Linked DNA regions of Homo sapiens: regions 1, 2, 4, 5, 6 and 7 are each linked to region 3. Evidence: promoter capture Hi-C in 16 types of primary human blood cells and fetal thymus (Javierre and others, 2016). All regions are on one chromosome and are shown on one strand. The core of a region is centred on a gene start or on the middle of the fragment in contact, and the rest is flanking DNA. Distances in the headings are between cores, read along the strand shown.

What was found. Contacts are between HindIII fragments. The CHiCAGO score rates a contact against its expected background, and 5 or more counts as called.
Region 1: a fragment that was not itself captured here is called in contact with the fragment with the promoter of PPIL4 in region 3 in 12 of 17 cell types (naive CD4 T cells, non-activated CD4 T cells, total CD4 T cells and 9 more); the score reaches 32.7 in naive CD4 T cells.
Region 2: a fragment that was not itself captured here is called in contact with the fragment with the promoter of PPIL4 in region 3 in 1 of 17 cell types (activated CD4 T cells); the score reaches 5.4 in activated CD4 T cells.
Region 4: a fragment that was not itself captured here is called in contact with the fragment with the promoter of PPIL4 in region 3 in 6 of 17 cell types (naive CD4 T cells, non-activated CD4 T cells, total CD4 T cells and 3 more); the score reaches 9.7 in naive CD4 T cells.
Region 5: a contact is called between a fragment that was not itself captured here and the fragment with the promoter of PPIL4 in region 3, in 15 of 17 cell types (non-activated CD4 T cells, naive CD4 T cells, activated CD4 T cells and 12 more). The highest score is 23.5, in non-activated CD4 T cells.
Region 6: a contact is called between a fragment that was not itself captured here and the fragment with the promoter of PPIL4 in region 3, in 3 of 17 cell types (naive CD4 T cells, naive CD8 T cells and total CD4 T cells). The highest score is 7.8, in naive CD4 T cells.
Region 7: a fragment that was not itself captured here is called in contact with the fragment with the promoter of PPIL4 in region 3 in 7 of 17 cell types (non-activated CD4 T cells, naive CD4 T cells, activated CD4 T cells and 4 more); the score reaches 14.4 in non-activated CD4 T cells.

What each region holds. Positions count from the first base shown.
Region 1 is chr6:149,068,682-149,072,742 of GRCh38, reverse strand. The region is part of intron 7 of UST (uronyl 2-sulfotransferase); the gene reads right to left. Among named protein-coding and RNA genes, the nearest start is that of UST-AS2, 38 kb to the right of the region's middle. The HindIII fragment of the contact is 7,123 bases long and covers 1-4,061 here.
Region 2 is chr6:149,171,722-149,175,421 of GRCh38, reverse strand. No RefSeq gene overlaps it. Among named protein-coding and RNA genes, the nearest start is that of TAB2-AS1, 84 kb to the left of the region's middle. The HindIII fragment of the contact is 3,422 bases long and covers 76-3,497 here.
Region 3 is chr6:149,544,408-149,548,082 of GRCh38, reverse strand. It overlaps PPIL4 (peptidylprolyl isomerase like 4), which reads left to right and starts at 2,040. Exons shown (of 13, transcript NM_139126.4): 1 at 2,040-2,147. The coding sequence starts at 2,078. RefSeq lists enhancers at 471-1,147, 1,851-2,150. The HindIII fragment of the contact is 2,652 bases long and covers 1,152-3,675 here.
Region 4 is chr6:149,121,537-149,125,242 of GRCh38, reverse strand. No RefSeq gene overlaps it. Among named protein-coding and RNA genes, the nearest start is that of UST-AS2, 91 kb to the right of the region's middle. The HindIII fragment of the contact is 560 bases long and covers 1,349-1,908 here.
Region 5 is chr6:149,051,801-149,055,526 of GRCh38, reverse strand. All of the region lies in intron 7 of UST (uronyl 2-sulfotransferase), which reads right to left. Among named protein-coding and RNA genes, the nearest start is that of UST-AS2, 21 kb to the right of the region's middle. RefSeq lists an enhancer at 993-1,112. The HindIII fragment of the contact is 1,155 bases long and covers 1,645-2,799 here.
Region 6 is chr6:149,153,695-149,157,481 of GRCh38, reverse strand. It overlaps LOC124901426 (a long non-coding RNA gene), which reads right to left. Exons shown (of 2, transcript XR_007059807.1): 2 at 876-1,196. Among named protein-coding and RNA genes, the nearest start is that of TAB2-AS1, 100 kb to the left of the region's middle. The HindIII fragment of the contact is 1,771 bases long and covers 724-2,494 here.
Region 7 is chr6:149,086,571-149,090,254 of GRCh38, reverse strand. No RefSeq gene overlaps it. Among named protein-coding and RNA genes, the nearest start is that of UST-AS2, 56 kb to the right of the region's middle. The HindIII fragment of the contact is 3,416 bases long and covers 382-3,684 here.

The sequences.
Region 1 (4,061 bases), core at 1,214-3,713, 480 kb after region 3:
TTTTGTCTAGCTTATTTCACTAAGCATGTTTTCAAGGTTCTTCCATGTTGTAGTGTGTATCAGAGCTTCATTCCTTTTTTTTTTTTTTTGAGATGGAGTTTTGCTCTTGTTGTCCAGGCTGGAGTGCAATGGCGCAATCTTGGCTCACTACAACCTCTACCTCCCGGGTTCAAGTGATTCTCCTGCCTCAGCCTCCTGAGTAGCTGAGATTACAGGCATGCACCACCATGCCTGGCTAATTTTGTATTTTTAGTAGAGATGGGGTTTCTCCATGTTGGTCAGGCTGGTCTCGAATTCCCGACCTCAGGTGATCCACCTGCCTCGGCCTCCCAAAGTGCTGGTATTACAGGTGTGAGCCACCATGCCTGGCCCAGAACTTCATTCCTTTTAAGGTTGAATAACATTCCATTGTATAGATAGAACGCAATTTGTTTATCCTTTCATCCTTGGAGAGACACTTGGGTTGTTTCCATCTTTTGCTTATTATAATGAACATTTGCATTCTAGTATCTGAGTCCCTGTTTCCACTTATTTTGGGTATATGCCTAGGAGCAGAATTGCTGGGTCATGCGGTAATTCTAAGTTTAATGTTTTGAAGAACTGCCAAATTATTTTCCACAGTGTTTGCACCATTTTACATTCCTACCAGCAATGTGTGAAGGTTCCAATTTCTTCGAATTCTCTCCTACGATTGTTATTTTCCTCCCTTTTTAAAATTGTAGCCATCCCAGTAAGTGTGGAGTGGTATCTCACTGTGGTTTTGATTTGCATTTCCCTAATGACTCCTGTAGTGATGCTGATGCTAATGGTTTCCCTAATTTCTAATGACCTTTTCATGTGCTTTTTGACAAGCATGTGTCCAACAAATGCTGTTTGTTTGTATATCTTCTTTAGAGAAATGTCTATTCAAGTCCTTTGCCCATTTTTGAAGTGGGGTTTTTTTTTGTTTGCTTTTGTTTGTTTTTATTGTTGAGTTGAAGGAGTTATTTACATATTTTAGATAATCTGCACATATATCAGGTATATAATTTACAAATATTTTCTTCCATTCCACAGGCTGTCTTTTCACTCTGTTGATAGTGTTCTTTGATGCATAAAAGTTTTTAATTTTAATGAAGACTATTTTATCCATTTTTCTCATATTGCCTGACTTTTGGTGTCACATTAAAAAAAATTGCCAAATCCAAGGTTGACATATAGAAGTTTTTAATTGTAATGGAGACCATTTTATCTGTTTTCTTCTTATTGCCTGTCTTTTGGTGTCATATTAAAGAAGCCATTGCCAAATCCAAGGTCATGAAGATTTGCCCTCACATTTTCTTTTATAATCTTGCTTTTGACTAAAATTTTTGTCAACAAATTTGAATAGGTATATAATTTACTAAATACAGTTCCAAATGGCTATTTCCAAAATCAGACTCATCTGAAAGGACATAGACTTCCCAATTTTTAGGATATTTGAGGTACCTTCTGAAGCCTTCAGTAGCAATTCTAAAGAAGGAATTTGAAAAATTCTCTATGTAGAGGCTAAGAAGGGTAGTGGGGGATTGGGGACAGGTGGGGATGGTTCATAGGTACAAAAAAAATTGAAAAATGAATAAGACCTATTATTTGATAGCACAACAGGGTGACTATAGCCAATAATAATTTAATTGTACATTTAAAAATAACTAAAAGAGCCGGGTATGGTGGCTCATGCCTGTAATCCCAGCACTTTGGGAGGACGAGGCAGGTGGATCACGAGGCCAAGAGATCGAGACCATCCAGGCCAACATGGTGAAACCCTGTCTCTACTAAAAATACACAAATTAGCTGGGCGTGGTGGCATGCACCTGTAGTCCCAGCTACTCGGGAGCCTGAGGCAGGAGAATTGCTTGAACCCGGGAGGCAGAGGTTGCAGTGAGCTGAGATTGCGCCACTGCACTCCAGCCTGGCGACAGAGCGAGACTCTGTCTAAAATTAATAATAATAATAATAAAATAACTAAAAGAGCATAACTGGATTGTTTGTAATGCAAAGGATAAATGCTTGAGGGGATGGATACCCCATTCTCCATGATGAGATTATTATGCATTGCATGCCTGTATCAAAACATCTCATGTACCCCATTAGGTATTAATTAAAATAAAAAATAAATAAATTCTCTATGTGGCCAACAGCCTCATTGAATAAGGGTATTACTTTTCAAACTGACTCTTTTGAAAGTCCTTTGCCAGGTTGGGTCCTTTGCACAGGGGAGCCTAGATCCTTGTAAATAGATAACATGGTCTTCATTGAAATTAAAAACATAACACACATTGAACACTCTAGAATTTCTGTTAAATAACTTGGCATAGACTCTTCTGAAATGGGTTCCTAACAGAACATTTTATAATATCTGTCTTCTCTGAAGATATGAACTCTAGCTAATCTGGGGCGGGTCATTGTTCACAGGTCTTAGGTGTTCCTTTTTGTTTTTTAAAACAGAGCTAAAAAATCTTATGAAAGACAGACAAGAAATAAAGAGTTTTAAGTCAAACATTGAGAGGCAGAGGAAAAATAATTCTCTCATTGAAAGCCTCCTTCAATCCCTTCCTCTTAGAGCACTATACATTGTGTAGGGTTTTGTTATCTGATACACAAAAAAGTAAGACTCCTGTGATTTAAAATAAATTCATTACTTAAATTATTTGGCCCAACCTGGCAAAGGATCCAAGGGGATAAGCAAAAGGGAGCCTAGATCCTTGTAAAGAAGTAATTTGGAAATCTGTTCTATTTCACAGCCTCAAAGCTCTTTGTCGTAAGGTTGAAACAGTAATTTCCTAAAAACAATGGACAGCAAGTGTAATCATATAAATACCTTGACTACAAAACTATCTGAGAAATACCAATCACATTTTACTAGTCTTCAATCACTTGCAAAATGTTGGTCTATATAATGGATTGAGTTGATTTGCTATATAAATGGTTATTAATTTCAGGCCAGAAAAACTTTGGGAATATTCTTTAAAGTTACAGCATAATGGGTTTATACATTTCTTTCTTTGATTACGATTAGGTGACTGGGTCAACTGCCATAAGGTTACTCCTAGTTCATGACAATAAAACTCTCTTCCCTGAATGCCTTCCTCTATGGTTAGGATGGGGGAGTTGGTGGATGGGCAGAGCAGGTAAATAACTCTGTCAAAAGTGACATTATATCCTTCCGAATAGACATTTCTCAAAATAAGACATACAAATGGCCAAGAGGTATATGAAAAAACTCAACATGCTAATCATCAAGGAAATGCAAATCAAAACCACAATGAGCTATCATCTTACTCCAGTTAGAATAGCTATTATTAAAAGCCAATAAATAACAGATGCTGGTGAGGATGTGGAGAAAAGGGAACTCTTATACACTGTTGGTGGGAATGCCAATTAGAACAGCCACTATGGTAAACAGTATGGAGAGTTCTCAAAAAACTAAAAATAGAACTACCATGATCCAGCAACCCTTCTACTATGTATCTATCCAAAGGAAATGAAATCAACATATCAAAGGGATACCTGCACTTGCATGCTCACGTGTTTACTGTAGTAATATTCGCAGTGGTAAAGATATGGAATCAACCTGTGTCCATCAATGAATGAATGAAGAAAATGTGGTATTATACACAATGGAATACTATTTGGCCATAAAAAAGAAAGAAATCATGTCATTTGCATCAACATGGATGGAACTGGAGGTCATCATGTTAAATGAAATAATCTAGGCACAGAAAGACAAAGATCGTGTATTTTCACTCATATATGGGAGCTAAAGAAGTTGACCACAAGGAGGGAGTAGGATGATACATACCAGAGGCTGGGAAGGATGTCTGGGTTGGAGAGCGGGCTGAAGAGAGGTTGGTTAATGGGTACAAATGTACAGTTATATAGAAGATGTAAGTTCTCATGCTCCATAGCAGAGTAGGGTGACTATAGTTAGCAACAATGTATTGTATGTTTCAAAGTAGCTAGAAAAAAAAATTCAAATGTTCCTAACACATAGAAATGATAAATACTCAAGGTGATGGATACCCTAAACACCCTGATTTGAT
Region 2 (3,700 bases), core at 537-3,036, 370 kb after region 3:
TGCTTGATAAATATACTCAAATATGAATATGGTTCATTTTAACATTAAAATATTGTTGAAAAACCAACCCAAGCTTATTCCATTATAATCCTCCTACAAAAATATTATTAATATTTGTATCTTTCTTACTGTGGATGATTGGTTTTTAGCTGATGAAGAGTTCAAGTAATGTGTGGAAGTGGCAGCTCTGCTATCCTTTTGGTGTTGACTCGATGTTGCATTATTCATTGTCTTCAGTGTTTTCAAGTTGCTTGTCTATTTTGAGGTGGTTTATTTGGTTAAACTCAGGTACTATGATTCATAAATATACCTAACCAGATACAGGAAAGGCACAAAATATCAGAGTATGCTGCCAAGGAGAGCAGGGGCTCTCAAACCTTCCCTTGGGACACTGCTGGAGATAACCCTGGCCTGGGTGACAGGATGGGGACAGAGAGTGACAGGGTAGTACAGATTTGTTATCGCTGCCACACAAAAGGCATTTAAAAAAATTCTAGCCTCTCAAAATTGACCTATAGCAATCTGGAGAGAAGAACTTGCTTCTGATGTAATATTATTTTAGAGTAGTCTCTAAAGAGCTTTTCCATGTTTGAAAACTCTTATATGGGAACATTTATCAGAACCAGTCCAAGGCAGCGTCAGAATCTCCATTTCAGCATGCATGAAAAGGAAGAAATTGTGAACAGGTAAAAGCTGGCTAGGCAACTACTGTTTAAGTGCCTAGTAAGAGCATTGGAAAGTGGGGCTCCTTTCCATGGAGTGATGAAATCTAAGAAAGACGTGCGAAATTTTATAAAACCAAATCACTGATTAGTAACTTCAGGGGGATGGCCTGTGCAGAAGGGCCCTTTACCGAGTCCGAACACACAAAAAGCATGATTATCAAAGCACCTTTCAGCAAAGTGAGGACTTTGAGGAAGCTCAGAGACAGAATCTGAGATGTTGTTTGTATGAGGTTCCAGGCTTTTCCATGGGCTGCAGTCTTTGTTGCCTTCCTTTCCATGGTGTAGTTTCAATGTCCTACCCTCCAACTGAGCAATCTGTCAGGCCAACTTCCACAGCTCCCTTAGGACTCAGCTTACTTTTCCCTTCCATAGAGTCTACCCTGCAAACTTCAGCACCCAAAGAGAAGCCCCTTGTAGCTGCAAGGGCTGCACTTGCGTTTGCTCTATTATAATACATTTGCTAGACAGACTTACCCATCACCTTACCCAGATGGTGACCTGCTGAAGGGGAAGGACCGCATCTTTTCAACCTTGCAATCTCTGTGCTTAGTATAAGACATAGCTCATTATAGGCATTCACGAAATCTTGGTTGAATAAATCAATCATAAGCAGTCTTTTTATATACTTGGAGCAAAGGCTTCTCCCTGCCTCACATCACCTCCTTTCCTTCCTCCTTCTTGTTCTTTGATTGTAGTCAGTATTTACTCACTGGACATCCTGGAACTTCAGTGATCACTGGTAGAGGGAGAGGCAACAACTTCAATGGAGAGTTATTGCATAGGAACCTCTACCTTCTCTTTTCCTCCTGCCTCCCCTGCCCCAGGCAGGCAGAGAGCATCTTCACAAGACCCCTACATGCAAAGTCTCCAGCTATAGCTCTTGTTCACGTCCATCCTCTTTGGCCAAATCCAGGAGTTCCGGGGTTCTTCTGAATTCACTCTCTAAAAACACCTAAGTCCCCGTGCTAGTTTCCTAGGAATGTTGTAAGAAATTACCAAAAACTGGGTGGCTTAAAACAACATATCTTTATTCTTTCTGGCCGGAAGTCTGAAATCAAGGTGTCAGCAGGGCCATGCTCTCTCTGAAGGGTCTAGGGGAGAAAGTGTTCCCTGGCTTTCTTTTGGCTTCTGGGGTTGCAGCAATCCTTAGTGTTCCTTGGCTTACAGCTGCATCACTCCCCTGTCTGCCTCCATCTTCACATGACTTTCTCCCTATGTGTCTCTGTGCTTCTATCTCTTCTCTTTTGTAAGGACACTAGTCATATTGCATAAAAGGCCCTCCTTAGGCCAATATGACATCATCTTAATTTACATCTTAAAAATATCTGCAAAGATCCTATTTCCAAATAAGGTCACATTCATAGGTTCCAAGGGTTAAGATGCAACATACCTTTTTGGGGAACACAATTGAACCCATAACAGCCCCTTTCTCTAGGGATCTGACCTCAGCTTGCTCAGCTGGGGATGGCCTTTGAGATGTTACTTGCCCCCTGTGACTGTAATAGTCAGCCTTGAGTCAGACAAACTCAGGGAAAGGGAAGCCTGTGATAGGAATACACACCTAAAAAATAAGTCGTTAACATCCTAGGGCAGGAGCCTAGCAGAGTCTGTCCTCGTGCGTGCTGGAGCTGGAAGGAGATTACTGATTTCAGGAGGTCCTGGGGACTTCAGCAGTCACAGTTGTGGAAATGTATTCTTATGCTCTTCCCTTAACCTGATTTGGAGTACGGCTTTTTTCTTGCCTCACAGCAAAAGTGGCTTCCAATCTCTATTCATTGATTTCAGTTCTGCTCCCTGTCTCCTGTCCCCGGCTCAAGTGCAGCTTGTTCTGGACTTGGCTTTTCCAGGCCCGATTCTGCCTCACGACCCTTCAGCTTTATGGTCCACTGTGAACTGACCCATTCTCATCATGTTACTTAGTTCACATGCTGTTATGGACTGAATGTTTCCCTCCAAAATTCATATATTGAAGCCCTAACCCCCGATATGATGGCCTTTGGAAGTGGAGTCTTTAGGTTTAGATGAGGTCAGGAGGGGAAGGCCCTAAGAAGGGATTGATTAGAGCACTTATAAGAAGAGTTAGAGAGATCAAAGCATGTACTCTTGTTCTTTCTTCCTTTCTCTTTCTCTAGACCATATTGGGACATGTCAGGAAGGTGGCCATCCATCTGTAAGCCAGGAGGAGTGCCCTCATGAAGAACTGAATCTGCTGGCACTTTTATCTCAGACTTATGGCCTCTAAATGATGCAAAAACAAGTATCTGTTGTTTAAATCACCCAGCGTCTGGCATTTCATTATAGCAGCCGGGCTGACTAAGAGACATGGCTGTGGAGAGATTCAGAGTGGCTTGGGTCCTCTGTCCGAGGCAGGCTCCAGGCCAGGCCTTGTGAGGGTCAGGCCTGGGATGCTGGTTCTGCGATTTCTCCTGGTCCAGGGTTGGACATAAATGTGTGTTTGTGTCCAGGAGTGGTGCTCTAACCCCAAGGCCCCCATCTGCAATGGTGGCATTTGAAACTTGACTGCTGGCCACTGAGACTTCTTGAGGCTTCTCCAAACAGAGCAAAGAGGCTGTCCTTGGTTCTTCTAGGATGAAGGACTCACCAGGTTGGGAACAGGAAACCTAGAGAAATTCTCAACATCCTTACAGGCAACTCTTGCAATTGTATATGGCACTGCTTGCTGGTTGAGAGAGGCTTGTAGTGTTTGTTCTCAGGACACTCACTGCGGCACTGTCCCCACATATGAAAACCAGGAGAGTGGGGATTTAAGCTTGTTTGTTTGCTTTTAAGCTGCAGAAGCATGCATTTTTCATAATGAGTAGAGGCCACCAACATATGGCTCATGGATCTCCTTTGCTGAACCTATTCCAACTCAGAGCTGTAAGAGCCCTCATCAAGTGTAAAGAAACCCGTCTCCTCATGTAACTGAAATTTTAAGTACCACTCAGGTCTGGTTTCAACTCTGGCAATAAAAT
Region 3 (3,675 bases), core at 791-3,290:
CATGCGCTACCACACCCAGCTAGTTTTTTTTTTTTTTTTTGTATTTTTTATTAGAGACGGGGTTTCACCATGATGGGCCCGGCTGGTCTCAAATTCCTGACCTCAGGTGATCCGCCCACCTCGGCCTCCCAAAGTGCTGGGATTACAGGCATGAGCCACCACGCCCAGCCATGAATATTGTGGTGGCAGTCGCTGTGGCGGGCACCTGTAGCCCCAGCTACTGGGGAGGCTGAGGCAGGAGAATCGCTTGAACCCAGGAGGCGGAGGTTGTAGTGACCTGAAATCGCACCACTGCACTCAAGCCTGGGCAACAGATCGAGACTCCGTCTCAAAAAAAAAAAAAAAAACCCAAACCGAAAAACCATATTTATTCATTCAACAAACATTTATTTGCACATTGTGTACCAGGCTGTCATACGCATTAGGGATATAGCTTTAAACAAAACAGACAAGATGGAATATCCTGGAACACACATTCTAGTAACAATAAACAAACAAACAAATTCGTAAATAGCATGTTAGATTGTAAAATGTACTCTGGAGAAAAAGCTATATGGAGAAAAAGAAGTGTCTGTGGGGTTAATTTTAATTATGGCAGCCATGGAGGGCCTCACTGACAGGGTGACCGACGCCAAAGCGCCTGAAGGAGGTGAATGGGAGCCATACAAATAACTGGAGGAAGAGGTCCCTCAACCAAGGCAAGTGAAAAGGCCATGGGGCAGGAGTATGTCAGCAGTGTTCAGGGAATAGCAAACTGTCTACTGTGGCTTCAGAGGAATAAGAAGATGGCGTAGGATGGGGTAGGAGAGGATCTTGTAAATCATTATAAAAGCTCTGGCTTTTCCGCCAGGTGCGGTGGCTCAAGCCTGTAATCCCAGCACTTTGGGAGGCGGAGGCGGGCGGATCCACGAGGTCAGGAGGTCGAGACCATCCTGGCTAACACGGTGAAACCCGGTCTCTACTAAAAACACAAAAAATTAGCCGGGCGTGATGGCGGACACCTGTAGCCCCAGCAACTCGGGAGGCGGAGGCAGGAGAATGGGGTGAACCCGGGAGGCGGAGCTTGCAGTGAGCCGAGATCGCGCCACTGCACTCTAGACTGGGCGACAGAGCGAGACTCCGTCTCAAAAAAAAAAAAAAAAAAAAAAGCTTTGGCTTTTCGTCAGATGTGAAGTTATTGGAGATTATGTGTAAAATGTCATAAGAAAGAGTGACAGGCTTGCCCAGAAGAGTGTCTGGGGAATAAACTTGCATGGCAAAATGTTAGTTTTGGCCAGGCGCAGTGGCTCACGCCAGTAATCTCAGCACTTCGGGAGGCCAAGGCGGGAAGAGTTCGAACTCCTTGAGCTCAGGAGTTTGAGACCAGTCTGAGCAACATAGTGAGACCACCTCCCCCGACCGCCATCTCTACAAAAAATAAAAGAACAAAATTAGCCGGGCGTGGTGGCGCGCGCCTGTGGTCACTTGGGAGGCTGAGACAGGAAAATCGCTGGAGCCCGGGAGGTGGAGGTTGCAGTGAGCCGACATCGCGCCACTGCACTCCAGCCTGGGCAACAGAGCGAGACCCTGTCTCAAAACAGAAAACAAAACAAAATGTTAGTTCTTAGAATCGGAAACCCCTAGTAGAGGCCCAAAGTTGTTTTGCGAAAAGGAGACTGACGAGGAAACCCGGAGGAGTCCGCCCAAATAGGTGGAGAGAAGATCCCGCCGCGGGCGCCCCCTGGTGGATAAAAGGGCCGCGCGGAGGGCCGCTCTGCTCTTGAGACGGACACAAACGGGGCACAAAACACTATACTGAGACCGTTCTGAGGGACAGGCTTCCACCAAAATCGCCAAGGGCGGACCAGGATTTTCAAAACGGCCGCGCCGGGGGCGGGACCAACCCGATCCGTAAGTCAGCTGGGCAGCCCGGCGCCCGCACGCCGACCGGAAGGAACTGCTCGGAACCGGGGGCGGCGCCGGCGAGATGACGCAAAAGGGGTCGCGCCGAGGGTGACGCGTGGCGTAGACGACGCCGTCGGCCTGCGCCTGTCACCCCCCTCCTCCCGGGGTTTGTAGCGGAGGAGGAGCGGGCGCCATGGCGGTTCTACTGGAGACCACTTTAGGCGACGTCGTCATCGACTTGTACACCGAAGAACGGCCGCGTGGTGAGGCTTGAGCCCCACTCACCTGTCGCCGGGGCCCCCGAGCTTGTCTCCCTACTTTCCCTTCTCTGCGCAGTCCAGGGCAGAGATTGGCTAGAGCTCGAGCTTCTGGGCTGCTGGTGCCCGCGACTGGGCTATTTTATTAACCGGCCTTGGCTAGAAAAGTTTTTGTGACGGGAATTCGTTTGAGCCTTGGCAGCCCTTCTCCCGTATTTTGTGTTGGCCAGTCCGGTGGACGGTGCTTGCGGTCATTAATTGCCTTTGGGAGTGTGTGTGTGGGGCGTGTGTGTGTGTGATTCGAGCTGCACATACAATACCCATAGCTTTTGTGCCTTTATTGTGTTTACTCGTGAGAGGAACATAGGAACTATTGCTTGGTGTGTAATCGGTTAAATCTTGATGAAGGCAGTTAGGGTGTGCTTGGCGCAGCGAGTGTGGGCATACCGCTTAGGTGGAGGAGGAAGAGGTTGTCTGGAGTGTGGACTGAGCCTTCGAGGCACTGGGCTAAGTCCTGGGCTTGGCTTCTTGCCCCCGAGGGTCTGATTTTTCCACTGGGGGAAGTAGACACAGGAACCCATTTTAGTTTTCTATGTGTTATGGTAGAAGAATGTGTAAGTTGCCACGGAAACCAGAAGAGGGCGGCTTCTTTGGTGGGGGGTGGGAAGAAGCAAAGCTAGCGAATACTATATAGAACACTTGAACTAGTTCTTTCAAAGATGAATGGGAATGAGGGTTTTCTTAGCTTGGACTTTCTTTGTTTGGAATTTTCTGGAAACGGCAAGTAGTTTGGTGTGGCTGGAAGGACTGGTGTGAGTCGTGGAATGGTAGACTCGAGTGTGGTCAGATACGCCTAGGTCAGTCGTGAATAGTCTTGTGTGCCCTACTGATGATCAGAGTCCTTGAAGACTTTAAAAGCAGGATTGAGGCATGGCATACTTGTTTTGAGAAGATAATAGGCAGCGGTGTGGAGAATGTATCAGAGTCAGGAAGAAACTGAGACCAGGAGAGATTAGTTACAAACAGGGTCCTACCCACATGGAATGCAGAGCCTATCAAAGAAGGTGAAATAAGTTGCAATATTGTACAATAACTACCTCCTGCCGTGCTCCGCTTTCCCTCGCACGCAGCTATTCCTCCCTCCTCTCCACCTGGCGAAAACACTACAAACTCTCCCGTACCATTGTTACCATTCTTTTGCTGTTTCTTCTAAACAATATTCTTCTCCACTATTGTCCTTCTGGCAAACTTACTACTTATTATCTAAATCTCAGATCAAGCATCATCTCTTCTTTGAAGCTCTCCCTCCTTTCTAAGCAGAGTTACCTGAGGGTTCCTCTGCTGTGTCTTAGGTCTTTTATAAACCACATGACACATTTTATTTTAACATTTACCTATTATCCTGGTGTTGTTTACAAGCGTGCCCTCGCTCAAGAATGTAAACTCCAATGAGAGCAGGAACTATACCATAATTATCATCTCTATATCCTGAGTACCCAGTACAATGTCTGCTACTTTTAGGGCACACACTAGA
Region 4 (3,706 bases), core at 379-2,878, 420 kb after region 3:
CCCCACACAGGCATACCTTGGAGATATTGTGGGTTGAGTTCCAGACCACCACAATGAAGCAAATATTGCAATAAAGTGAGTCACACCTTTTTTTTGTTCTCCATTAAAAATAAAAGTTATGTTTATATTGCACTGTAGTCTATTAGGTGTGTAATAGCATTTTGTCTAAAAACACAATGTACATACTTTAATTAAAAAATATTTTATTACTAAAACATGCCAATGATTATCTGAACCTTCAGTGAGTCATGATCTTTTTGCTGGTGGAGGGTCTTGCCTTGATGTTGACTATTGACTAATCAGAGTGGTGGTTGCTGAAAATTGGGGAGGCTATGGCCATTTCTAAAAATACAACAACAATGAATTTGCCACATCAATAAACTCTTCCTTTCATGACGGATTTCTCTGTAGTGTGCAATGCTGTTTGATAGGATTTTTACCTGTAGTAGAATTTGTTTCAAAATTGGAGTCAATCCTCTCAAATCTTGCTGCTGCTTTATCAACTGGGTTTATGTAATCTTCTAAATCCTTTGTTGTCATCTCAACAATGTTCACAGCATCTTCAGCAGGCTTAGATTTCATCTAAAGAAACCATTTTAGTTGCCCATCCTTAAAAAGCAAACTCCTCATCAATTCAATTTTTATCATGAGATTTTGGCAATTCAGTCCCATCTTCAGGCTCCACTTTTAATTCTAGTTCTCTTGCTATTTCCACCACATCTGCGGTTACGTCCTCAAATAAAGTCTTGGACCCTTCAAAGACATCCATGAGGGCTGGAATCAATTCTTCCAAACTCCTGTGAATGTTGATATTTTGACCTCCTCTCTTCAATCATGAATGTTCTCAATGGCATCTAGAATGGTGAATCCTTTCCAGAAGCCTTACAATTTGCTTTGCCCAGATCCATCAGGGGAATAACGATCTATGGCAGCTATAGTGTTACAAAATGTATGCTTAAATAACAGAACTTGAAAGGCTAAATTACTCCTTGATCCATGGGCTGCAGAATGGATCTTGTGTTAGCAGGCATTCATCTCCTTGTACATCTCCATCAGAGGTCTTCATGACCAAGTGCATTGTCAATGAGCAATAATCTTTTGGAGGGAATATTTTTTATCTGGGCAGTAGATCTCAACAGTGGGCTTGAAATACTCAGCAAACCATGCTATAAACAGATGTGCTGTCATCCAGGCTTTGTTTTTCCACTTATAGAACACAGGGAGAGTAGATTTAGCATAATTCTTAAGGGCCCTAGGATTTTCAGAATGGTCAATGAGCATTGGCTTCAACTTAAAGTCACCAGCTGCATTAGCCCTTAACAAGAAAGTCAGCCTGTCCTTTGAAGCTTTAAAGCCAGGCATTGACTTCTCTTCTTTAGAAATGAAAGTCCTAGAAGGTATCTTTTTCCAACTTAATGTTGTTTTGTCTACACCGAAAACCTGTTGTTTTGTGTAGCCATGTTCATCAATTAGCTAGATCTTCTAGATATCTTGGTACAGCTTCTATATCAGCACTTGCAGTTTCATATTGTATTTTTATGTTACGGAGATGGTTTCTTTCTTTAAACTTCATAAGCCAACCTCAGCTAGCTTCCAACTTTTCTTCTACAACTTCCTCATCTCTCTCAGCCTTCAGAGAATTGAAGAGAGTTAGGGCCTTGTTCTGGATAAGGCTTTGGCTTAAGAGAATGTTGTGGTTGGTTTGATCTTCTATCCAGACCACTAGCACCTTTTCCATATCAACAATGAGGCTTTTTTGCTTTTTTATCATTTGTGTATTCACTGAGTACCACTTTTAAATATCCTTCAAGAAATTTTCCCTTGCATTAACAATTTGGCTAACTGTTTGGTGCAAGAGCCCTAGCTTTTGGTCTGTTTTGGCTTTCAACATGCCTTCCTCACTAAGCTTAATCATTTCTAGCTTTTGATTTAAAGTGAAAGATGAGAGACTCTTCCCTTCACTTGAACACTTAGAGGCCATTGTAGGGTTATTAACTGGCCTAATTTAAATATATTGTATCTCAGGGAATATGGAGGCTTGAAGGAGAGAGATGGAGAAACAGCCAGCTGGTGGAGCAGTCAGAACACACACATTTATTGATTAAATTTGTCATCTTATCAGGGCATGGTTTATGGCGCCCTAAAAAATTACTGTGGCAACATAAAAGATCCTTGATGAGATCACCATAACACATATAATAATAATGAAAAAGTTTGAAAATATCGTGAGAATTGCCAAAATGGGACACAGAGACAGGAAGTGAGTACATGCTTTGGAAAAATTGTGTTGATAGACTTGCTTGACACAGAGTTGCCATAAACATTCAATTTGTAAAAAAGAAAAAAAAGTAGAATCTGCAAAACATTACAAAATGAAGTATGTCTGTAGTGTTTTCCATAATGGCTGTACAATCTATATTCCCACCAACTGTGGACAAGGGTTCCCTTTTCTCCAGACCCTCACCAACATTTGTTATCGCTTTCCTTTTTGATAATAGTCATCCTAACAGGTGTGAAATGATACCTTATGGTGGTTTTAATTTACATTATATTTTTACTTTTAGTCCCCATGTGTTCATTTCTAATATATAGAAATATAATTGGTTTTTGTATGTTAATTTTGTGTCTTGTGAACTTGCTGAACTCATTTATTTACTCTAGAAGTTTTTTTGTATATTCTTGGGATTTCCTATGTAGACAGTCTTACCATCTGCAAATAGGAACAGTTTTGTTTCTTTTTTTCCAATCTGTATGCCTTTTATTTCTTTTTCTTTTTCTTCACTTATTGCTCTGTCTAGCACTTGGAGCGCTATGTTGAATTAGAGTAGTGCATGTGGATATTCTTGCCTTGTCCCTAATCTTAGGTGGAAAGTGTTCAACGCTTGTAAATGGTATTAATACACCAATCAAAAGGCAGAGATTGGCAACGTGGATTTAAAAAAATCACCAAAATCTATCCTATGTACAAGAAACTTGCTTTAGTATAAGGATATAGGCAAGTTGGAAATAAAAAGAGAAAGAGAAAGTGGATTTTCAAGCAAAGAAAATTACCAGACACAGATAAAGACATTATATAATGATCAAAATGTCAATGCATCAAGAAGACATAATAGTTCACTCTTCTTTAGTTTCCAAGTCTCTGGAGATTTTCTTATCTTTCTGTTACTGATTTCTAGTTTGATTCTTTTGTGATCAGAGGACATACTCTGTATGATTTCAACTATTTTAAATTTATTGGGAGTGTGTGTGTGTGTTTATGACCCAGGGTATGTTCTATCTTGGTATATGTTCTGTAGGCACATGTAAAGAATGTGCATTCTGCAGTTGATGGGTGGTGTTGCTACTATCCTATGGGGTGAAGTCCTGTTCCCTTTTCAGCTTTGTCTGACATCACCCTGGCATGAGGTAGGGGTGGAGAGTGGGGCTGGGGTACCTTGTTGCAGTTGGTAAAGACGAAAGTCTAGGCTCCCCTCTTGGCTTTTTCTGGTGTGAGTGAGCCATAGTTTTTTCTGCGGTGTTTGTAGGAGAGTGGTTATTGTTTAAAATAACCAGTCCTACTTGGATGCCCTTTCCTGGCCCTTTGGCTAGAGAAAGTAGGCTTTGATTGAGATTTTCTTTTGTCTGTGCCCATTGGCATTCCCAGTTGCCAGCTTCTTCAGCTCCAAGTCTGGGCTTTACGAGGCAAGAAGAAAATCCAGGGAACTCA
Region 5 (3,726 bases), core at 973-3,472, 490 kb after region 3:
TAACTTGAATGACATTCAAAGCATTCTTAAAAAGTGTGTTCAATGAATGGAAAATCAAAGATGTTTGAAAGAGAAAAGTCAACAAATGGAAAAGCTGTAACCCATTCCATTTTAGTTTAGTTTTATTGGGGCATGAAATGAAATTTCATAATGTTCTAAAAACAACAACTTAACTGCATAAAACTGAATAAGTGAACCGGCATTAAATCCATACTGTATTTTTTAAAATCTCATTTTGATATAATAATAGTAACTGGTTAGTTAGGTCATAGTCCTCTTCCTCAAGTCACGCACAGTTAAAGAAATATTTCTAAAAATTTCTAATTGCTCCTACATTCTAGCAAAACCATACATCGACTTGCTGGTTGATTTATGACTTTCTAGTAACCTTTACTCTCAAATGGCTTCTACCAAATGATTTATTTACTTGGTCTATGCTGAGGTAACCTCCTGGCTGGGCTGACTGCCGTCCTTTCAGCTCGAAGTGTAAAGGATTGAGTCCCCTCACTAAGACATTTCTTGAGTTTCTGTGAGAGCTGTGGGTTCTCATGCGATAAACCATGAGTCTTAGGTTCAATTTTGAAATGTCTCTCTTTCAGATTGCTTGAGCCGGGGAGGTCTAGGCTGCAGTGAGCTGTGACTGCACCACTGTACTCCAGTCTGGGCAACAGAGTGAGACCTTGTCCAAAACAAACAATAAACAAACACCCAGAACAAATAAAAAATGTCTCTCCTTCCTCGTCATTTCTCTTTGGAGAAAAAAGAAAATCTTTGACAATTTCTGACCCACTGAACAATGTAAAGTGGCAAAGTTTCACACTTTTGCCAAAGGCTTCTAATTTCAAGCCTTTTTCTGGTCCACGGTGGTGCTTCACCTCACTCTTGTCTTTCCTGCCCAGTTTCCTCTCTTAGATTACAAACTTAATCTACTAAATGCCTGCCCCCCGACAATAGCAGAGTTTTATAAGATCTGTATAAAGTCATTAGTTTTCCCATTAAGCATCGGTGTCCCCCAACTCCAGCCTGTAAGATGCACACAGTATCTGGAACCACAGAAGATTGCTAAGACAATGTTAGGTGTCTGACACCTTTTAGCTATAAGTGCAAGATGATGTGGTTGAACATCAAAGGCTGTGGAACATGCAACCAGGAATCAGCATATCCTCATTGAAAACTTTTACACCATTTCTACCAAAAAAGATTAAATTCTAATTGAATGCTACTTACTCATCACTTCTTGAGTTTTACATGTGACAATAAAATGAAGGCCTACTGGTTACTGGTTGGCTAGAAGGGAAAGCAAGTGAAAGCTCTTTGGCTCTTCTTTGGGTAGATTTAATTCTACCGCACCCCCCTCCCTTTCTGAACATTTACAAAACCCTCAAGTACTTTTCTTTCCCTCCTTCTCCATTTTTTTCCCACGAGGTCCAAAGTCCCAGGGAGGGAGCTGCTGGGCATGGGGGGATGGGGTGAGAATAGGGTAGGGAACCACAGCTGCTCTCAAATTGTGCTGGTGTCTTGGACAGGGGTGACAGATGGTGGCAGGAGAGCCATTATTCCCACCCTGCCAAGCTCATGACAGCCATTTCACAGAGGTCACGGCCAGGCTCCACCTGACAATACTTGTGCCAATGTTTCTAAGCTTCTGTGACCAACTGTCCAAAAAGGCACTAGATATGAGCCCCAATTCTTGTACTTTTTAGCTGAGAGAATGCTTTGAAGGCTTTTCAACCATCAGGCTTCTGTGCATTCCCTGAGGTATTTAGACCCGGTGCTTCGATAAATTAGTGGTTGCAACTGAGCACATAATTCCTTATATCCACTTAGAATGTTTATGAGATAATTAGTTCTCAATTTCATACAGCACCATCGGTTCACCTCCTGATCAGACAGATACATGAGTGGCTATTTTTTTGGAAGTATGGCAAACATAGTTGAAGTCAGTTGACATTAGGTTATACCTCATAGAGCATATAGTAAATAAGTCATATCCATAATTGTCATAGAAAAAACACACAACACATAAGTTTGGGTTTATAGCCACAAAGAGGAACATAGAAGACAGGGAAAAATATGACCCTGAACATGAGCATGGAATGTTTTCAAACTTATTGATATTCACAGTCTTTATTCATAGCATCTTGATGGGATTCATGAGTAACAAAGGGCTTTGTGGAAATATCTGAAGGCCAATAATTCTTTTTAACAGACTAACAAGACCAAATTACTATTAAATTGATTTCAGTAGTTGGTAACCGTACTTATTTCTGGTAGACTACATATTTCAATAAACAACTTTAAAAACAAATGTCACTGAATGTCAATTCACTATAAATTTAACAGTGAATATGTCATAAAATATTTTTATATCTAAACAACTAAAATAATAATAGGACCCTAAAAAGACTTTTAAAAAGTGTTCATTAATCAAGTTTTGTTCTATATGATAAATGATGTACTCTAAGAATTTCTAAAACTCCAATAGATACTTGCTGTAACTAAACTGGAAAGGGTTCCCATTTTTGCTTTGCTATTTTAGAAAAATAAGGAGTATTCCTTGGATTGTTTGCTTTCTTAAATTCCACTCTCCGATTCATTAAAACCCTTATGAAAACCAAAGTTGCTGACATGACTGAAACAAATGGCTTTACTGTTAACCAGATTGAGTCTTTGCAAGCACTTTATTAAAGCGATTTTAGTAATTCCAACTAGTAAAGTCTTCCCCCACCAACAAAAAAATAAAACAAAGTAACACATTTAGAATATCAATGAACATCACCTCAACAGAACCACTAAGCTTTCCAGAAACACTGTGTTCTTGAGAATTCAGCAGAATAACATTTCATAGAATCCTACTTTTCTAGCTACCCCATCTCCCTCAGATAATCATGTTTTAGATTTTGCCCTTTTCAGAGAGAGAGAGAGAGAGAGAGACCAGTTAAGAGCTTACGAGCACGGGGTTGCAAGTCACCTGGGCCTGGGTTGAATGTTCAATCACTTGAGTGCTGCTAGCGACCAGCTCAGTAACATAGAAGCGTTATGAATCATCTCTAAGTTGGTGGTTTCCTTATCTGTACAATGGACATAATAATAGTATCTTCCTCACAGGGTTGTTCTTAGGATTAAATGAAATAGTACATCTAAAGGACTTAACAAGATTCCTGAGACACAAGAAGCTCCCAATGAGTGTTAAATATAATAACAACAACTATTAATATTATGACTGTTATCCTCAAAATATATTCCCTTGAAACATCAGTATTCTGCCACTGAAATAGAAAAATGCTAATCTCCCCAAATGAAACAATTAATTTCAATTTAGTTGAAACTTAATGTGTTAATGATACTTTATGAAATTACAGACATCAAGACTTTGAGATGCTCTGCTCCTATAAAATTTTAAGGTCTGGTGGTTCAGTGAAAGTAAAGATTCATATCCCTTACAGTATACATGTGCATTTATAGATCAACTTTCCCCACCTATACATTCATTAGGTGCATAAAATTCCAAAGCACTTCTTGATCATGAATACCGTATAATCTATAATTATTTAATTCTGTAAAAATGTCAAAAATATATTTTGGATGTTTCACATATTTTCCCCTCCCTAATAGAGTTCCATTTGGGTAGTACTATCTCTTTTCTATTCATTTTTTATCTTCTACTATATCTTCTTGCCTGTATTAGGTAAATAATAAACATTCAAAAATCATTCATGACTGCAG
Region 6 (3,787 bases), core at 360-2,859, 390 kb after region 3:
AAATGCCCAGTTCAGAGTTGTTAGATTGGAAGACTGTACACTTATTCCAATGATTCTACCATTAATCTAATCCCTTTTGGAATTATCTTATTGGAATTCCTATCCTAGACCAAGGCATGTGGTTTGAAAGATTTATTGGTGGCAAACTTTGGTTTTGCGAGAGAATCTGCTATTTAGAAAATGCAAAAGGCATCTGGTGCCCAGTCTGGTAAATAAGTTGAGTAATCTAACTTTTTAATCTGATTCATATGTGATTAGAAATGAACGAGACTAATTTTCTGATGTATTTCTCCATAAACTATATCTGAAAGCGATTCCAAAACAGAAATTTCACAGATGTTTCGAAGAATGGTGGTACCACTGGAATATGTTGTGTATCTAGGTGGGCATCCACCTTAAATGGAATTGCATTCCTATTATGCATATCGTTAAAAAATCTTACAAAGTTTTGAGACTAAAAAACAAAATTCCAAGCGGTCCTTATTCCATATTCATGGGCACTGCCTGGAATGGGCCTGATTGTTGTGATGAGTTTGAGTTTGTGGCCATTTTTGCTGGTCCTTATTCCATATTCATGGGCACTGCCTGGAATGGGCCTGATTGTTGTGATGAGTTTGAGTTTGTGGCCATTCTTGCTGGTCCTTCAAGGTAGCAGAAAGGATGGTGCTGGTATCTTAGCTGCTTGAGCCAATTATGTTTTTACTGGAATTGGAGTAACAAGCTTCTGTGCTGCCTATTAACTTCCTACATGCTGAGATGAGAATAGCTTGAAGCTGTGGAAAAATGCTGATATACTTAAAATAAAGAACCAAAATAGCCATATAAAGAAACCTCAGGGAATTTTAACCAAGAAATTACTGCCAAATAAATCTGCAGCCAGTCAAAATGCTGAATATTTTATTTTGAAAAGGAACTATATTTTTAGTCTCTGCCATGCTTGTCAACACTCCACTGTAATAATAAACTAAACCATTCATTAAAAAAAAAAAAGATGGAAGTGACCTTTTTCACAAACCCAATTAGCCACACCATGCATTAGTGGAGACAGAAATGCACAAGTGACTGTTGGCGATCATAAACACGAGGTCGGGGCATTTGTAGTTCATAACAAGGAATAAGAAGCATCTACTGTCCGATCGGAGTTCCACCAAAACTGTTGGCTTCTGTGGGCCCTTCCCACAACAACAAAAGATGAGCTGAAAAATAAAAGTCAACTCTGGTCATCATGGTAGTTCAGTAATCTTTTCTTCTCTCTTTTCTTCTTGAATGTTCATTTTATTGCATTCACTGTTGTGAGGTGAAAGGCTGAAGAAACTAATTATAAAAACAATATGCATCCATCTTAGATAATTTGGAAAATAAGCCAATAATAAAAAAGAAAATAAAAGTTACCCATCCCTCACCATTCAGAAATAATCGCAGTTAACATTTTGATATATTGCCTTCTTATCTTCTTTAAATGCATTATAGGTAAATAATTTAAAATACAATTAGGAGGATGCATATGATTTTGTTTTTTTCCCTTAGCATATTATACACATTTTCCTATGTGAGTAAATACTCTTCAAAAAGATAATTTTTAAAGGGTGCACAATAGCCAACCCCATGCATAGAACATAAATTCATCATTGGAATTCCTATTAATAGATATGCAACTTCTTTTCATTTATATTAATACATGTCTATAATGAATATCTCTTTATAATGTTTTATGTACTTGTATTAGTCTGTTTTCACACTGCTGATAAAGACATACCCGAGACTGGGTAATTTATAAAAGAAAGAGGTTTAATGGACTCACATTTCCACAAGGCTGGGGAGGCCTCACGATCACGGCCGAAGACGAAGGAAGAGCAAAGGGATGTCTTACATGGGAGAAGACAAGAGAGCATGTGCAGGGAAACTCCCCTTTATAGACCCATCAGATCTTGTGAGACTTATTTACTATCAGGAGAACAGCACAAGAAAGACCCACTCTCATGATTCAATTACGTCCCATGGGGTCCCACCCATGACACATGGGAATTATGAGAGCTACAATTAGAGATTTGGGTGGGGACATAGCCAAACCATATCAATACTGTTATGATTGTTTCCTTAGTATGCATTCTGAGAAGTGGAATTCCTAAGTCAAAGGATTCTGTGCATGTTTTAGCTAGTAAGTTTCTTGTTAAAAATAAATGATGCTTCTACTAATACATTGAAAATTATTATAATAATTACCCCCCTCCATCTACTTTTCTTTCAAAGATAAGCATTATCCCTTGAACCTCAGTATTATCAGTCCCATCTCTACTGGGTGCTGCCATATAAAACCAAACATGATATATAGGTTCACTGACATGGATAATTTGTCTCTCACCTCACTGTCTGCCAGAAGGAATATGGTGGAATTTGCTAAGGGATTCAAATGTATATCCAAGAAATGTGACAAATACTTTTGGGGTGCCTGAAAAGGTCAACCTCCATCCTTAGACAGGTGTCTGCATAAGCTTTCCTGAACAATGGGGCTGGGCATTTTATTTTTATAACAGGTAGATCAGGGATATCTGACTCTACCCAAAGCACTCAGATAGAAATCACAAAAGTTTGACTTAAGAGGCTACGAGACTGTATTCCATGAAGGTGACTTCTTCTAGAAGACTAAGCTGCAGCAGCCTTTTTGGGCCATGAGGACTGGTGATGAAGCAGAGAGAGCCAGAGGCAATCTGCAAAGGAAGCCAGAGGAGGGAGCAAAGGGACAGAGGGAAGCAGAGAGACATTGGGGTAGGATAGGGAAGGGAGAGAAAAATAGACAGAGCAAGGGTTTAGTTACCAAAGATTCGACTTCCTGTGTATATTCTTCAAGTTTCATGAAACACTCCTCTCATCTTGCAATAAGTTCTCTTTTACTCAAGCTGACTGAAATGTGAGCAAGTTATCCTGACTCAAACAATGGGACTGATGTTGATCAATCTTCCCACTGTGGCAATCTCAGGCACATGCTCTTTGTTATATGGCTAGGTGCTGGTCAGTATATATTTTTTAAAACAAGAATGTATAATTGCTGAATGTACCTTAATTTGAAAATGTTGTTTTTTTCCCTGTAGATAGGTCATATTGGTCAGACCACATGCTGACATGTGAATTTGTTCCCACCAAATGAGTCAGTTGAGATTTTAAAAAGCAAAAACAAAAAACCCAAACACCTCCCAATTGTTCTGGAGGATAAAAAAAAATGAGCTAGTTGGTCTTACTGGCTTGTACTAACAAAAAATAACCCCAAAAAATCTGGCTTCAGTATACTTAAAACAATAACATTAGCTCTTTCTGCTATCCCAGTGGGAACAGAGTTGTAATAAACTGCACATTGTCCAGATTGGTGTGATTTTAACCTGGTAGTGGGATAAAAAATATTTGCTACATGGTTTAAAGTTGAAATAGCAAGAACAAGTCTTTCTTATTCACATTTTCTTAAGAAGCTCTCTGTGCATAGAAGAGTGTGAGCCTGGGATGGGACAGGTGAGACATACTTTGAGGGATGTCAGCTCCTGCTCATTGCTACCTAGATAACGTATACACTAGAACTGAGACAAGACGCTGGGGAGGCTGGAGTGGCTTTTGCTTTTGCTTTTATTTTGGAATAGCAAAATATAGATGAGGAGAAGATGATGCAATTTTTGTAGGAGAAAAGAGTGAAGGGACAGGGTGAGGAAACAGCAGAAGTTGTTGTTTCTCTTTCCCCATCTTCTTCCAAAATTGAAATACTGAAGCATCTTAGGCACAGTTTTCTGTGAAAATGCACAGA
Region 7 (3,684 bases), core at 840-3,339, 460 kb after region 3:
ATCAAAAGTCTGGGACCCCTGCTTTACACAGAGTAACTCATCACAGCGAAAGAATAGCATAGCGACTGGAACGCAGGGCCGCAGCCGTGTCCTAGGTAACATGCTGATCATTCGATTTAGGATTTACTAACTGACACTGTACAATTGGTTCGAGTTTGGTGATAAGCTTTAAGTACGACTACTAGGGACTTCTTAGTCAAAGGTCATCTCTTCTCTAATCTGAAGCTTCTTCTTCCTTTAAGATTCCCACTTTCCTTCCTGGTTGTGCCCGTATATCTGGGTTCTAGTTTCTTAACTCAATAGAATGTGTTAATCAGCTAATATTCTTCTGAACTCATTTTTATTCTGTTCTATACACAGTTATTTTTCTAGGTGGAAGCTTGAACATATTTTTTCTATATTAAATAGTCTCATGATTTTTACAAATGGTATGAAATTGCTACAGGCCATATTAAATATTACAATGCCCTTAAACTTGAACAAAGCCAGTCTGGGACAGACAGTAAGTCCACAGCCTGACAGGCAGCACCCCCTTGCTGACTGTACATTCCGTTGCGTTAATCAGCCGTGGGACAGAGCCACTGCTGATGCCGCTCCTCTTTTGAACACCGTCACCTGTGGGCTCAGGGCAGCTGCAGACCCTCCAGTCCCGGGAGCCACATCTTCAGACACAGCTCTGTGTCTGCGCCATACCAGTTTCAGGGCCTCCGGAGTGTCTCTCAGCTCTAAGTCCTGCAATTTCCTTTATGGATGCAGTAAATCATTCCACACACCATGGAGCAGAGGAACAGTCTGAATTATTAGACCTACCTGCTTGGCTCCTTTAGAGGGGGATTCTTATATTGAATGATTTTCCCTCTTCACTTATTATTATTTTTTAGATTTTTTAAATGTTTTTTTGAGACGGAGTCGCCCTCTGTCGCCCAGGCTGGAGTGCAATGGCGCGATCTCGGCTCACTGCAACCTCCGCCTACTGGGTTAAGTGATTCTCCTGCCTCAGCCTCCCAGAGTAGCTGGGACTACAGGGGCACACCACCACACTCAGCTAATTATTTTTGTATTTTTTAGTAGAGATGAGGTTTCACCACGTTGGCCAGGCTGGTCTCGAACTCTTGACCTCAGGTGATCCTCTCGCCTTGGTCTCCCAAAGTGCTGGGATTACAGGCGTGAGCCATGTGAAATGTTTACATAAAACACCCATAGAGCGTTCCTTAGAAGCTGACCAGGGGGATTCTGGTCATGTTGGGCCACTAGTGTTGGTTTCCCAGAGGTGGCAAGTCTCTGTCACTTTCTTTCTCTATCTCTCCTGTTTACTCTGCCCTCCTGTTTCTCACTCCAAGTTCTCCGCCTTCCTTTGCTCAGTGAAAAAGAATTAGTTCACTGCATTCATTCAGCCACTCACCCATTGGCTCATTTGTTCACTCCTTCATTCTGAGTGCTGCATTTAAGTGCCGTGGACACTGCAGTGAACAAGACAAGGTGTTGCCCTCACAGAGGGTGTGGTCTGGGGGGTGAGACAATGGTTAAATGAGCATTTACAATGTAGCGTGGTGAGCGCTACCCTTGGGGGGAGCACCAAGGGGCTTCTGGAGGCACTGAAGCAACAGAGATGACGCAAAGCGGCTCAAGACCTGAGAAAGCGCTGTTCAAGTGGCAGCTGCAGCTTGTTCACCCTCAGCCTGGGCTCCCTGGGGCAACACAGACCCAAGGTGAGCTGAAATTGTACCCGCAGTTCTTCTTGAGCAAGAAAGGGTTTTCCTGGTGGAATTCCACAACTGAGTTGGAAAAATAAAGATTAAGATACAAGCGTGTGCCGAGGGACAGAGAACGTGACTTCTGTGAAGTGGAGAGAAGAGAGCTATGCTGCACAAAGTGGAAAGGAAACTTTGTCACCGTTAAATAAATGTAACCAGAACAGACTCAAGGAGGGCTCTGAAGGGTGGAGTCCACTGAAGTTGTGTACAATTCATTATGGAAGCGAGACTCGAATAATAGCTGACTTAGTTTAATTTATATAGGTGAATCAATAATTTGCCTGAGAGATCCAATTTTGGGTTTAAATGATCTGAATAGTCTTGCCCTAAAATCAAGCTCTGTCCAGGAGCCCTAGTGATTGAGGCAGTGGAACAGCTCTGGGCTAAACTGGTTGGGTCAGCTCTATCCACGCCTTTGTAAGCTGTTTTAACCATTTCACAAGAGTGAGGCATGATGTGAGGTTAAGGGAGCTTTCCTGTGATGGGAGGCTGGGGAACGGGACGGCTCACCCACAAGCTAAGGGTCTGGCTTGAGCATTTGTGGTTCAAGTGCATGTATTTGCAAGGTACGGTTTGCCTTGTGTCAATGAACCTTTAAATGTCACCTGAGATCAGTTAAAAGTAAAATATTAAATATGTAGCAGCTGTGAATGTATTGTAATTTATGTGAAAGTGCTTTGAAAACTTAAATGCTGTAGTGTTTAACCTTTTTCTTTGGTAACAGACCATTTTGAGAATCTGATGAAAATATGGACCCCCTTCCCAAAAGAAGTACATACCAATATGCTTATACCTTTATGATTCTCTACACAAATTCAAGAAGTTCACAGATATTCTGATGTCACAGCTTCCCTGATATAGAGATTTATAAGTATAAAATGTTATTGAGTATTCTTTTTACATATTAAGTGAATGGTGGTATGTAGAGTTTTATATTTAACATGATCTCAATGATATTATATGTATAGAAAAGGATATACGCACATGGAACAGACTGGAAGGATATGCACTAAAATGTAAATAGTGCTTATATTTGGGTGATGAGATTGTGGGTGATCTTAATTTTCTTCTCTAAGTCTTGTTTGAAAATTTTTTCACTATTTTATTGTTAACAAGTGTCGCTGTGCCTTGTGACAGGCTATAGAAATACTGGGCAGAGCTTTCAAAAGCAAATCTAGGCTGGGCGTGGTGGCTCATGCCTGTAATCCCAGCATTTTGGGAGGCCGAGGCGGGCAGATCATGAGGTCAGGAGTTCGAGACCAGCCTGGCCAACATGGTGAAACTCCATCTCTATTTAAAATACAAAAATTAGCTGGGCATGGTGGTGTGTGCCTGTAATCCCAGCTACTCAGGAGTCTGAGGCAGGAGAATCACTTGAACCTGGGAGGCAGAGGTTGCAGTGAGCCAAGATGGCGCCACTGCACTCCAGCCTGGGCGACAGACAGCAAATCTAAAAAGACCCTGTAGTGGAACCTCTTTTGGGTGGCGGCTTTGTTCACAGTAGTCTCCCGTATTCTCTGTTTCACTTATTGAAGTTTAAGTTACCCTCAGTTAACCTCGGTCCAAAAATATTAAGTTATTTGGCCTGGGGGTGGGTGGTAGTGGGTTGGGGGAGGGGGAAGCACATTCACTTACTTTTATTACAGTATTTTGTTATAAGTGTTCCATTTTATTATGAGTTATTGTTAATCTCTGATAGTGCCTAATTTATTAATAAAAATTAAACTTTTTTCATAGGTATGTATGTATAGAAAAACACATAAGCATATACACGGTTTGGTACTATTCTTGAGTCCAGGCAACGACTGGGGGTCTTGGAACATATCTTCCTTATCCACGAGGACTACTGTATTTACCAGTCTCTGAGATCTAGTGATTTATACCATGGGAACATTCCTCCTGGCCTTCTGATTGGTTCAAGGATGGGGGG